Regions from separate parts of the Homo sapiens genome. Here region 1 is linked to region 2. The links are contacts of gene promoters, found by promoter capture Hi-C in human tissues and cell types (Jung and others, 2019). All regions are on one chromosome and are shown on one strand. Each heading gives the region's core, a stretch centred on a gene start or on the middle of the fragment in contact. The rest is flanking DNA. Distances are from core to core; before and after follow the strand shown. Region 1 has its middle 12 kb from the start of LINC01260. Region 2 holds the start of PABPC1L (poly(A) binding protein cytoplasmic 1 like).

Region 1 (5,774 bases), core at 3,073-5,572, 220 kb before region 2:
TAATTTTTGTATTTTTAGTAGAGATGGGGTTTCACAATGTGGAAACACTAGGCCACATTGTGAAATGTGGCCAGGATGGCCTCCATCTCCTGACCTCATGATCTGCCCACCTCGGCCTCCCAAAGTGCTGGGATTACAGGCGTGAGCCACCGCGCCTGGCCTATTATCTTTAATAATTATAAATACTGGGCTGGGCGTGGTGGCTCATGCCTGTAATCTCAGCACTTTGGGAAGCCAAGGTGGGCAGATCACTGGAGGTCAGGAGTTCAAGACCAGCCTGGCCAACATGGTGAAAACTCATCTCTATTAAAAATACAAAAATTACCCTGTCATGGTGGTGCATGCCTGTAATCCCAGCTACTCAGAAGGCTTAGGCAGGACAATCGCTTAAACCTGGGAGGCGGAGGTTGCAGTGAGCCGAGATTGAGCCACTGCACTCCGGCCCAGGCGAGAGAGTCAGACTCCATCTCAAAATAATAATAATAATTATAATAACTATAAAGACCAGCTATCATATGGAAAATGTCCCTGATGTGTGAACAAATGCAGGATGGAAAAATACTCAGTGTAGTCATTTTAGCTAATATATATTTGTTAAAACATCCAAATATTTTTTTCGAGCTCGGCGCTGTGTGCCAAGCTCCATGCTGGCTCATGGACAAAGTCAGGAAAAGAACAAGCAAAAATGAAATTCCTTCTTGTGTCGGGAGTGGTGGGGTTTTGGGGGACAGGTATCTCCCCTTCCCCATGTTTTCTTCTCAAACTTCCTCCACTGTTGTTATATTACCTTTGCAGTGATAAAACCAAGAGAACAGAAGAAATACTTCTGGACCTAAGGATGAAAGAATGATGGGAGAAACATTTCTTGAGCCAGTCCCTTTCTGCGTTCTTATTTTGTGGAATCCGCACACATCCCCGAGAAGCTTAATAAAAAGGGCTACTATCATGACACTTACTGTGTGCCTTGCCGGTTCCACCTGTTAGGTGCCATTGTTGTCCCCATTTTACAGATGAGGAAACTGAGGCGGGGCAAGGAGATGCCCTTCTGCTTGGTGGTCTATCCTTCAGCATTACCCACACACATGCAGAGCTACATATAAGCTCACGTTCACACTCGGATTCACGTCTGCACCCATGGGCACATGGAGGATCGCACAAGCCACACTCAGACACACATGTGTGCTCACACACAGGGCTGCCCATGTCCACAGGTATGTGCATGGGGACACGCATGTATATATGTGCATATTCCCATATGCACACAGCACAGGTCAAACACTTTTGGACACACATCTGCCTGAGAATGGGAAAAGGGGTGCAAGATAAAGGGGCAAAGTCTGGCTTTTGCCTCCTCCCTGCACCTGCTACCAGCTGTGTGCAGGACTGGGTGGGGCAGAAATAGGTGGCTCTGAGCTCAGAGGGCAGAGGTGGCCTTGCACTAGAAATCCACCTGCCAAACTTCCAAATGGGCTACAGCGACTAAGGGGCCTCACCTGCTGGGCAAATCCCCCAGCTGGAGGGTGTGCTCCAGATCCTCCAGGGGTCCCCAGGGGGTTGAGAAGATGAGGGGCACACCCAGCAGCCCCTAAGGGAGGAAGCGTGGCCATACTGGCTAAGGGGGCGCACTCTTCTTGCAGGCCGCCTGATCAGATGCCTGTAAAATAAGACAGCTTTACAAAGAGGGTGTCGGAATGTGAGGAGGCAGAGGGACAGGCATGAGTAGAAAGACCTTCCTCAGGACCTGAAGTCCAATGATCCTGGTCCTGCGTCCCACTAGCTAGGTGATATTGAACAAGTCACATAACCTCTTTGAACCTCAATTTCCTCATTTGTAAACTTTGCACAAATCATTTCTTTGACTGCTAAACAAGTATGTTTTGAGGACCAACGACATGCCAGGTACGGTGCTGGGCACTGGGAAAACAGCAGCAAGCAACACAGACATGGGCTTGCCGTGTAGAGCCTGCAGAATTAGGGAAAGGATAAATGGAAACATCTCACACATAGTAAGTGCTCAGTTACGTTCCTCCTGGTCTCTCTTTTCTACCATTGTAAAGGCGATGCAATAACATAGAAAGTTGGGAGAATGGGGTGGCGGTTGCTGAGGGGGGAACTCTGTCATCCAGAATCCCACCACCCCAACACAATGACTAGCTTCATTTTTGCCAATTTCATCAGCTCATGCAGGGGTTGACCTGCTGTAGGGCACTCAAAATATTCAAACCAATTAATGCATTGCATTTGTGATCAGAAGAAAAAAGCTAATTACAATGTAACAGATTTACCTGATGCAAAGCAACGCAAGCATGGCCATCCCTCTGCATATATGGAAGCTTTTCCTTTTGGGGGAAACAGCAATATTTCCATTTTACGGAAAAAGAAATGGAGGCACAGAGAGGTCAAGGCACTTGCCCAAGGTCACACAGACAGAAATGCGAAGAGCAGCTCCAGAGGCCAGAACTCCTGCCCATCCTGTCCAGGACTGTGGGATGCATCCAGGGACGGACACTGGGGCTGTGGGCTGGATGACTTGGCTGCCTTTGCATTGATTGGAGCTGTTTAGGGAACCTACCCCAGCCACTAGCATCCAGTCCTAGAGACACAGAAAATTCACTGGCCAGCCTCACTTTTGAGCCCAGAAACCCCTTACCCTTCCTCCTGCCTCTTGAGAGGCCAGTGTTAGGTGTTAGCCGGGGTGCAAAGCTCTGGAAGGCAGGTTTCTGCTTTCTGCTGCCCTCCAGTGGGCAAAGAAAGCAAACCTCTGGATCCATCTGGAAGCAGGTAGCAGGTGTTGCCCAAGTCAGCTGCGGCTAATAGTAATAATAATGGCTGCCGCTCAATGAGCACTTACCACGTGCAGACGTTTTTACACCTAATCTAATGTAACCTAACCCCTTTAAGCAATTTAATTAACATTTAATTCCTCTCTCAAGGTAGGAATCACTTCCTATATACCCATTTACATACATAATCTGAGACTTAGAAAAATGACTTCCCAAAGTCACAAAGCTGGTCAGTGGCAGAGCCGAGAGTGCAAGTCCTTGGAGATCAGAGGAGGAAGAGACCATGATCCTGGACCAGGAGACAGCCCTGCATTCTTGGGCACAGAGGTGAATTTACTGTGAGGCTGGTGACGCATCAGGGCTCCTGACTTGCATGTCCTCTCCCAGGGCCATGGAGGAACTTTCCAACGCATTCGCATGGGCATATGTTTCACATTTGCAAAACTAACACATTTCAGTTGCAATTGGCTGAGACCACTATCTCTCTCCACTGCCTAGAATAATGTCTTCACATAGTAGGTAATAAATATGTGCTAATAAATCCATTTTGTGTTTAATAAATCATGTTGAATGAATGGGTAGAGAAATGAAGGAAGGAAGGAAGTGGCATTTAGTTCAATCTTGAAGGAAGGGCAGGATTTGAGAGAGCGTTCCTCATGTAGCCTAGTGGGCCCCTCCACACACAGACCATCCAAGGCCATGAGTGGCCTTGAATGCCAGGGTGAGGAATCTGGCCTTAGGTGGTAGGCACTGGGGAGCCATGGAAGGTTGCAGAGCAGAGGAAGGATATGAGTGTAATTGTCAATTAGGCAAGAGTTGAATGTCAAATAAGAGGACAGGGCCCTACAGCGGGGGGCCAGAGTGGCTCAGATAAAACTCCCCTCATCCAGCACCACACAGAGAGCTGGTGCTCAGCCAGTGTGATCACAGAAGCCTCTGCTGGGGTGTCTATAAGCTCCCTGGAAGAAGATATCCAAATGCTTTGCATGTGTGGCTTTGTGTATGTGTGTGTGTGGGGGGGGGAGGGGAGGTGCTGAGTGTGGATTTGCTCAGCACTCTAGTGTGCCCAGCCCAACGTGGGGGAAAGGTCAAGGCCCTGTCTGGCTTAGGCAGGGAGTTCTCAGCATTGCAGTATGACTGAGCCTCTGGCTGGAAAGTAAGGGAGCCAAGAGAAAACAGGTTTAGAAGTTGGCTAGGCAGAAGTGGACCTATGAAATTCCAGCTGCACCAGCTGCTTCTTTTGCTAAGCTCCCGTCATCCTTTCTCTCTCTCCACTGGGTCTTTCTGAATGTCAAGAATCCCAGCCACTGTTTAGTTAGCACTTGTTTTTTGCCACACTCTGTGAAGCACCTTCAAGCCCGATCACCGGATTATTCCTCCAACAACGCCGAGAGTGAGAAGAATGGCTATTATTTCGATTTTATAGGTGAGGAAGTAGAAAGCCCAGAGAGGTGAAGTTGCTTACCTGAGGTCACATAGGAGTCAATGGTATACGTGAGATCAAACCCAGACTCCAGAGGCAGCCCCCCTCAGTCGCCAGCCGTCCTGCCTCCTCTCCTGGTCTAAGCTGGGGAGGAAAAACCCATCTTGGCCAGCAGGGGGCGGTGTGCCCTCAAGGATAAGCCCTGCTTCCCAGAACTCAGACAGAATTTGCCAGCAAGACAACAGCACGATTCTGAAATATCTGGCTTTGAGCCCTCATTTAGTCCCAACTCTGGTGGGGCCTGGAGAACGGGGAGAGGGGTGAGAGAAGTATAAAATAGCCCTCAAATTGGTGAGCCAATGGTTCACAGAAAGGAAAGCGCAGCGGCATTTTAACATATAAAAAGATTCTCATTTTCACTCCTAGGAAGAGAAACGTGTTAAACCCACACCACCTGAGCAGGCACTGTTTTGCTATCAAACTGGCAAACTTATGCAGGTGGGGATATGGAGACACACTCCTTCTTACATTGTTGGTGGGATTAAAACTTGGTTTTGGCCAGGTGCGATAGCTCACACCTGTAATCCCAGCACTTTGGGAGGCCGAGGAGGGCGGATCACCTGAGGTCGGGAGTTCAAGACCAGCCTGGCCAATATGGCGAAACCCTGTCTCTACTAAAAATACAAACATTAGCTGGGTGTGGTGGCACACGCCAGTAGTCCCAGCTACTCGGGAGGCTGAGGCAGGAGAATCACTTGAACCCAGGAGGCGGAGCTTGCAGTGAGCTGAGATCTCGCCATTGCACTCCATCCTGGGCAACAGAGTGAGACTCCATCTCCAAACAAACCAAAAAAAAAAAAAAAAAAAAACCAGAAAAGAAAACTTGGTTTAACACCTATAGAAGCTAATCTGGTAACATCTATCAAAATTAAAAATGCACATATCTAACAGGTATGCATGATACATTCATCAAAAGACTTGAACTAGACCTGCATGATCTGATGTGGAGCCACCCACCACATGTGGCTGCTGAGTCCTTGAAATATGGCTGATCCAAGCCTGGCTGACATGGCAAAACCCTGTCTCTACTAAAAATACAAAAATCAGCCAGGCGTGGTGGCACGTACCTGTAGTTCCAGCTACTTGGGAGGCTGAGGCACAACAATTGCTTGAACCCAGGGGCGGAGGCTGCAGTGAGCCAAGATCGTGCTACTGCACTCCGGCCTGAGCAGCAGAGCGAGACAGTCTCAGAAAAAAGAAAGAAATATGGCTGGTCAAATTGAGATGTGCTGCAAGTGTGAAATATATATGGGATTTTGTATACTAACAAAAATGCAAAATGACTCCTTAATAACTTGCTAATATTGATGATGTGTCGCAATAATATTTTGGATAGATTGGATTAAGTAATTTTTATTTTTGTTTTTTATTTTTTTGAGACGGAGTCTCACTATGTCGCCCAGGCTGGAGTGCAGTGGCATGATCTTGGCTCACTGCAACCTCTGCCTCCCGGATTCAAGTGACTCTCCTGCCTCAGCCTCCTGAGCAGCTGGGACTACAGGCACCTG
Region 2 (6,562 bases), core at 155-2,654:
GTCAAGGTGTTATCCAGGGGAAGAAATTACCATTAATTAAACAGCCTCTTTACACCCGTTACTTGATACCTCTCTACCTTCCACAACAAACCATGCAGGTATTAGGTCCTCTTTAGTGACTTCTAAGATTTGGTATGGACAGTTATTTTGCATTGTATTCGAGCCCACCATCCCTTCCCCATTTTTTAACTCTGAGATACAACCAAGCCAGTGAAATAGGTAACCTATGGTTGCATAAGTCTTGGTCATCACCAAGCTGGCGTCTCACCTGTCCTCACACTGTATGGTGGCCTGCAGAGCTGGTTCCTCACAGGATTTGCCCCTTCTGAAAACATCCACATTACCACAAGGAGAGAAAAATATCAGGATAGAGGGGTCTTTTTTAGCCCAAGATTAGAATTAGTGCTTCCTTGCTACTCTGAGGCTGGACAGCCAGATGGGCACCTTCTGTCCCTAGTTTAGGAGCTGTTCCACCTGTTGAAGCCACACTCAACCAAAAGTCAGTGGGGGCCTACCTGCTCTGTTGGATCAGTGAGACCAGGAAAGTCCTATCAGAGGAAAAGTGAAGTATTGGTGCTCAGTGGAGTAGTTGTTTTGTTTTTGTGTTGTTTTTAATGTCCCTATACCACAGATTGACGCTGCAAGCTCAGATTCACAGTCTTGCTCTGTTTAGGTCTTGCTCTGCTATTAGTTCCCAATTGTCCGCATTTAGGCTGAGCCACAAGTAACTCAGTGAACCTCCCTGGTGTAATGGATGTGTAATGGCTTAGCAGAGGGACAGGGAATATCCCAGGAAAAGGGGTCTTGGTAATATGAGCCAGTACCAAGAAAGGCCTTAGTGGTCTCCAGTTCTCATGTCTCAAAGCCATTTCCATCCTTGGTGCGAAACGGTGGGACTGGATCAGGCTCTCTGGAGGAAGACATCTTCAATGGAGCAGGGTAAAATTCTCTACACAAGCTTTGAAACAGTGGCCTGTTCGGAATTCCGTTTGTGTGTGAAACGCAAAAAGCGCGGTTTGGGTCTCCTTTCATTCTTGTCAGGAGGGAATCATTCCCATTTTACAGAGAAGGGAAACGGGTTCAGAAAGATGATCATCTGTTCCGGGGTTAGAACTCAGTCCCCTGCGTCCTTTCCGTCCCAGTCCTCGGCTCTTTCAAAAGAGCTGGGGGTTTTGAGAGCTCCACTCAAGTCCCAGCAGCCCTGCTCAAGGCCAGGTTGAAGGCTTTTTCCGCCTCCCAGGGCGGGGTCAGAGGTGTCCCCACCTGTAGCTTTTAGATCCCCAAGTGCTCGCAGGTGGGGGGTGGGCCCAGGAGGGATCCCGGGGGAGGGGCGTCCGAGCGCGCCCACGATTGGTGCGCAGGGACGCGGGGGCGGTAAAGGGAAGGGGCGGGCCCGCGCCCAGGAAGGAGGGCTTCCGCCCGGGTGAGCGCGGGGCTGCTGGGTGACCCGGCTCCTGCTTGCCCCGCAGCCCCGGCCCCCTGCCCACCATGAACGCCAGCGGTTCTGGCTACCCGCTTGCCTCGCTTTACGTGGGCGATCTGCACCCCGACGTGACCGAGGCCATGCTCTATGAGAAGTTCTCTCCCGCCGGCCCCATCCTGTCCATCCGCGTGTGCCGCGATGTAGCCACCCGGCGCTCGCTGGGCTACGCCTACATCAACTTCCAGCAGCCCGCGGACGGTGAGCCCCGGGGATGGGGCGGGAGGGGAAGGACCGACGGACAAGCAGGCGGACAGACAGAAGCCGGAACTGGGCCGCTTGCGCTTTCATCTTACACTTTGCAGCCGGGGAAACTGAGGCTCAAAGATAACAGGGCGTTGGCAGAGGCCTGGCCCCTGAGACGGGAATTGGTAATTAGTGTGGTTTACTGCTATTCCTCTACAGAGGAGAGAGATTAGGGTCGAGTGAAAACAGATACAGGCTTTGTGGGGGTGGGGGTGGGGGTCAGGCGGACCAGGGATAGAAGCCCAGCAGCCGTGTGACTCTGGGCAAGTTACTCGACCATTCTGAGCTTCAGATGCGTGTCTGGAAAATGGGGGTCCTAGCTGCCTTATAGAGTGCTTGTGAGGATGAGAGATTCAAAGCACCTGGTGAGGAAGATGCCCAAGGCAACACAGCTGGTGAGCAGGGGAGGCAGGAGAACCCAGCCTTGGGCTCAGGCCTTTCCCAGCGCGACGTGAGATCCACACTGGGCGCCTCTACCTGCACGGGCTCTGAAAAACCGCTGCCTCCAGGCCGCAAGGCCGCTTTCTCAGAGCTGATAGCATTGATTAGAGCTTGTCCGATGAGTTTGCCTGCACTTCTGTTGAGAGTGGAGAGGATGAGTGAGCTTGGGCAAGCCTTCACGCTCTGCACCTTTTCATCTGCAAAATGGGGCTAAGGCGTATTCTCCAATAACATAAAGAATGGAGAACTGCTGTCTATGCATAAAGAATGGTAACTGCTTGTTACCTCGTAAACGCTCTTAAGTGGTAACCTAAAATAAATAAATAAATAAATAAATAAATAAATAAATAAATAAATAAGGCCAGGCGCAGTGGCTCACGCCTGTAATCCCAGCATCTTAGGAGGCCGAGGTGGGCAGATCACTTGAGGTCAGGAGTTCGAGACCAGCCTGGCCAACATAGCGAAACCCTTTCTCTACTAAAAATACAAAAAATAGCTGGGCATGATGGCGGACGCCTGTAATCCCAACTGCTGGGGAGGCTGAGGCACGAGAATCGCTTGAATCCGGGAGGCAGAGGTTGCAGTGAGCCGAGACTGCGCCATTGCACTCCAGCCCGGGCAACAGAGCGAGACTCCATCTCAACACAAAACAAAACAACAAACAAAAAAGAAACAACAACGAAAATAGTGGCTTTAACATTCTGATGTAAGACTCCAGAAACTCACCCAAAAAATGGCCGGCGTCCACTAGAGGGATCCCTTGCGCCAGGTCGCCTGGGTGAACCTGGTGGTTGCCTGAGTGGGTGGTTTGCTAGGGAAGGGGTTGTTCCGCCGGGCCTGTTCCCCGCCCCTTACTGGGCTGGATTCCTGGGCACTTTTCTGTTTGTTCTGCTTTGCTCCACCTCCTGCCTCTTCCCATCTTCCTCCAAGCCCTGTGAATGAAGTGGGACTCGGCCTGGAAACCGTGCTGCAGAGAGAAGGGTTTTGCCCCAGGTATTTATGATAAGACTAGGTGGAGAATCCGGGCTTCCTGAAACTTGCTCCACTGTGTTCCCCACAGCCCCCTTCCATGTCTCTGCACTAGCAGACTCCCTGAAACAGGTCACGTGTATCACCCAGGAGAGACACAGGCTGCAGCAGTGGCCGGAGGCTGGGCATCGGCTGCTGTTTTGAGACATTATTTTGTGTCAGGCACAAAGTTACAAACAAGGCACTTTTACATACCTTCTTTATTTTTCAGTCCCTCCAACAACCTGGTAGTTGGTAGTATCTCCCTTTGTTAGGTGTGGAAAAGTAGGTAATATTACCATCATTCCCCCTTTACAGGTGAGGAACAGGCTCAGAGAGGTAATGTCCACTTTCCCCAGAGCCGGACTGCTTGAGATCTAACCTCAGCTCTGCCCTGCAGCACCTCTGAGTTTTAATTTCCTCAAAGTGCTGCCACCCCTTGTCATATGGACATTGTTATCCACTCAGTGTACTTTAGAATCCAGAATAGACCTGACGCTGCCACAGACCTTTCATGTTTCTTATTCTCAGTTTTCCCATCTGTAAAATGAGGGGCAGGAATCCATGCTCATGTGGCTGCAGGGAGTTGGTTGAATGAGATCATAACTGGAAGGTTGGGGGAGCACCATACACACTAATTCTCAGCTTATCCTTCCTGAGCCTTTGGGCTCTTATCTCAGTTATTTGGGCTCTTATCTTGGCTTATTGTCTGGGACCCAGACAATGACTTTCTCTTTATTGGCTCCCAGTTAAGCACCTCGAGGGGTGGGTGATCAAGGTAAGAAAATTCCCTAAACTTGCTAATTTCTCTCCTCTTCCTTCTGTCCAGCGGAGCGGGCACTGGACACAATGAACTTTGAGATGCTCAAAGGCCAGCCTATTCGCATCATGTGGTCCCAGCGAGACCCAGGACTTCGCAAGTCAGGTGTGGGCAACATCTTCATCAAGAACCTGGAGGACTCCATTGACAACAAGGCTTTATATGATACCTTCTCCACCTTTGGGAACATCCTCTCTTGCAAGGTAGAGGATGAAGGGTGTACGTCTTTGGGTAGATCGGTGTCAACTACCTGCCTGGTAGAGGGGTGACAAGCAACACCTCACTTTACAGTTTACAAGGTCCTTTCAGTCAAGTTTCAGGTACAGCAAGCACCTGAATGACAGCCGTTCTTTCAGTTTCATCTTCCGTGAATGACCAGACATTACCTGTGTATCAGTCAGCTCTCGCTGTGTAACCACCTTCAAATTTAGTGGCCGTCAACAACAATCATTTATTTAGCTAATAATTCCACAGTTGGCAATGGGCAAAGTTCAGCTGGGCAGTTCTTCTGGTCTTGGCTGGGTTCCCTCCTATGCCCACTGAAAGCTGAGTGGGAGCTCTCGCTGGGTATATGAGGGAGCGACTGGCTGTCAGCTGGAACATCTTGGCTTTCCTCCCTATGGCCTTTTGTCCTCCAGTAGGCTAGTCCAGGCTATTCTCATGGTATTCTCATGGCAATGGCAGGGGCTCAGAAGACAAGAGTGGAAGCACACCAGGCCTCTTGAGAACTAAATGCAGAACTGGAACCATCACTTCCACTACGTTTTTTTTTTTTAATTGAGATGCAGTCTTACTCTGTTGCCTAGGCTGGAGTACAGTGGCATGATCTCAGCTTACTGCAACTTCCTGGGTTCAAGCCTCCTGAGTTCAAACGATTCTCCTGCCTCAGCCTCCCGAGTAGCTGGAATTACAGGTGCGAGCCACCATGCCTGGATAATTTTTGTATGTTTAGTGGAGACAGGGTGGGTTTCACTGTGTTGGCCAGGCTGGTCTCGAACTCCTGACCTCCCAAAATGCTGGGATTACAGCCATGAGCCACCGCACCTGGCCTCTTTCACTACATTCTATTGACCAAAGCAAGTCACAAGACCAGCCCACATTCAGAGTGAGAGGGGAGTAGAAATTATAGGATGAAGGGTGTGGCTACAGGAAGGCCATTAATTGGGGCCATCAAGGCAATTAAGTTATTGAATCTTGTTTTTAAGATTGTCTTACATTAGATGTAAGTTCCATCAGTGATCTTGTTCTTAGTCATTATTGTATCCCAATACTTAGAATAAGATGTGAAACATATTAGGTGCTCAATAAATATATGTTGAGCCAGTGGAGGTATGTCATTTGAGAAGGATTCTGATTATTTCTCTGACTTTTTATATGAGGATGTTGAGGATCAGCGGCCATATAGCAGGTCAGTATGTCTGGAACAGAGGGCTTAAACCTGGGTGTTCTGTCTCTAGATTTTATAAGGATAGTTGATCAGTTACCCCGTAGCCTTTGGAGTGTCTGCTATTCTAGGGAGGATGGGGACAGTTTTTGTAGCCTATGTGTCAGAACTTTTTTTTTTTTTTTTTTTTGAGACGGAGTCTCACTCTGTTGCCCAGGCTGGAGTGCAGTGGCGCGATCTCAGCTCACTGCAACCTCCTCCTCCCAGGTTCACGCCATTCTCCTGCCTCAGCCTCCTGAGTAGCTGGGACTACAGGTGCCCGCCACCACGCCCAGCTAATTTTTTTTGTATTTTTAGTAGAGACGGGGTTTCACCGTGTTAGCCAGGATGGTCTCGATCTCCTGACCTTGTGATCCGCCCGCCTCAGTCTCCCAAAGTGCTGGGATTACAGGCGTGAGCCACTGCACCTGGCATGTCAGAACTTTTATCAAGTGCTACTGTGTGCCAAGCATAATCCTTAAGTTCTCAACGAGGGCTCTCAAATTCCCAGTCAATAAGAGGCTATCCCTGTGGCTCAGAGGAGCAGGTAGACTTGAGGAGATGTAGTAATGCACTAAGGGTTATCTGTGACAGAGAGACGGGGCTGTTTCCTGTCTTTGAGGATCAAAGGAAGAAAGACTCTTAACTGTGTATTAAGTTCTTCACAATAATAATGGCAGATTTATCATGTACTTTCTGTGTGTTAGGTTTTCTGCATACATGTATACTCCTTAAAAGGGTACCTGGCATACTGTTAAGCTTCTAAGTGATAACTGTAACAATCAAAGAATTACTTCTGTTGGCTGACCTTGGACAAGTCATTTATTCTCATTTTCCCTCTGGGGCTCAGAGGTTAAGAAATGACTGAAAGGATTCTCTTATGACTGGCATAGATAACAAGGGAAGTATGTAATGCCCTTAGCAGGTTCTTGACCCACAGTGGGGACCCAGTCAACGTGGTTAAATCCAAGCTGAGGCTTGAGTTGAAAGTGGAAGGCCCCTGTTTCAGGATGAGAGGTGGAGGGGTATGTGCAAGGCATGGGTTTGGAAGCAAGATCTGTTGTGCAACACCCACTGGGGAGCCTCAAATGCCAAGTTGATATAGTTCTGTGGATAGAAGCTACTAGAGATTGAAGGGATGTGG

Evidence for each region. The method cuts DNA at HindIII sites, captures the fragments that hold promoters and counts their contacts. A contact is called where the count stands out against the background at its distance.
Region 1: a contact is called between a fragment that was not itself captured here and the fragment with the promoter of PABPC1L in region 2, in 1 of the 25 tissues and cell types used here (bladder).

What each region holds. Positions count from the first base shown.
Region 1 is chr20:44,680,984-44,686,757 of GRCh38, forward strand. No RefSeq gene overlaps it. Among named protein-coding and RNA genes, the nearest start is that of LINC01260, 12 kb to the left of the region's middle. RefSeq lists silencers at 2,604-2,663, 4,265-4,384. The HindIII fragment of the contact is 5,388 bases long and covers 1,629-5,774 here.
Region 2 is chr20:44,908,656-44,915,217 of GRCh38, forward strand. It overlaps PABPC1L (poly(A) binding protein cytoplasmic 1 like), which reads left to right and starts at 1,405. Exons shown (of 15, transcript NM_001372179.1): 1 at 1,405-1,681; 2 at 4,005-4,198. The coding sequence starts at 1,489. RefSeq lists a silencer at 1,259-1,588. The HindIII fragment of the contact is 11,748 bases long and covers 1-6,562 here.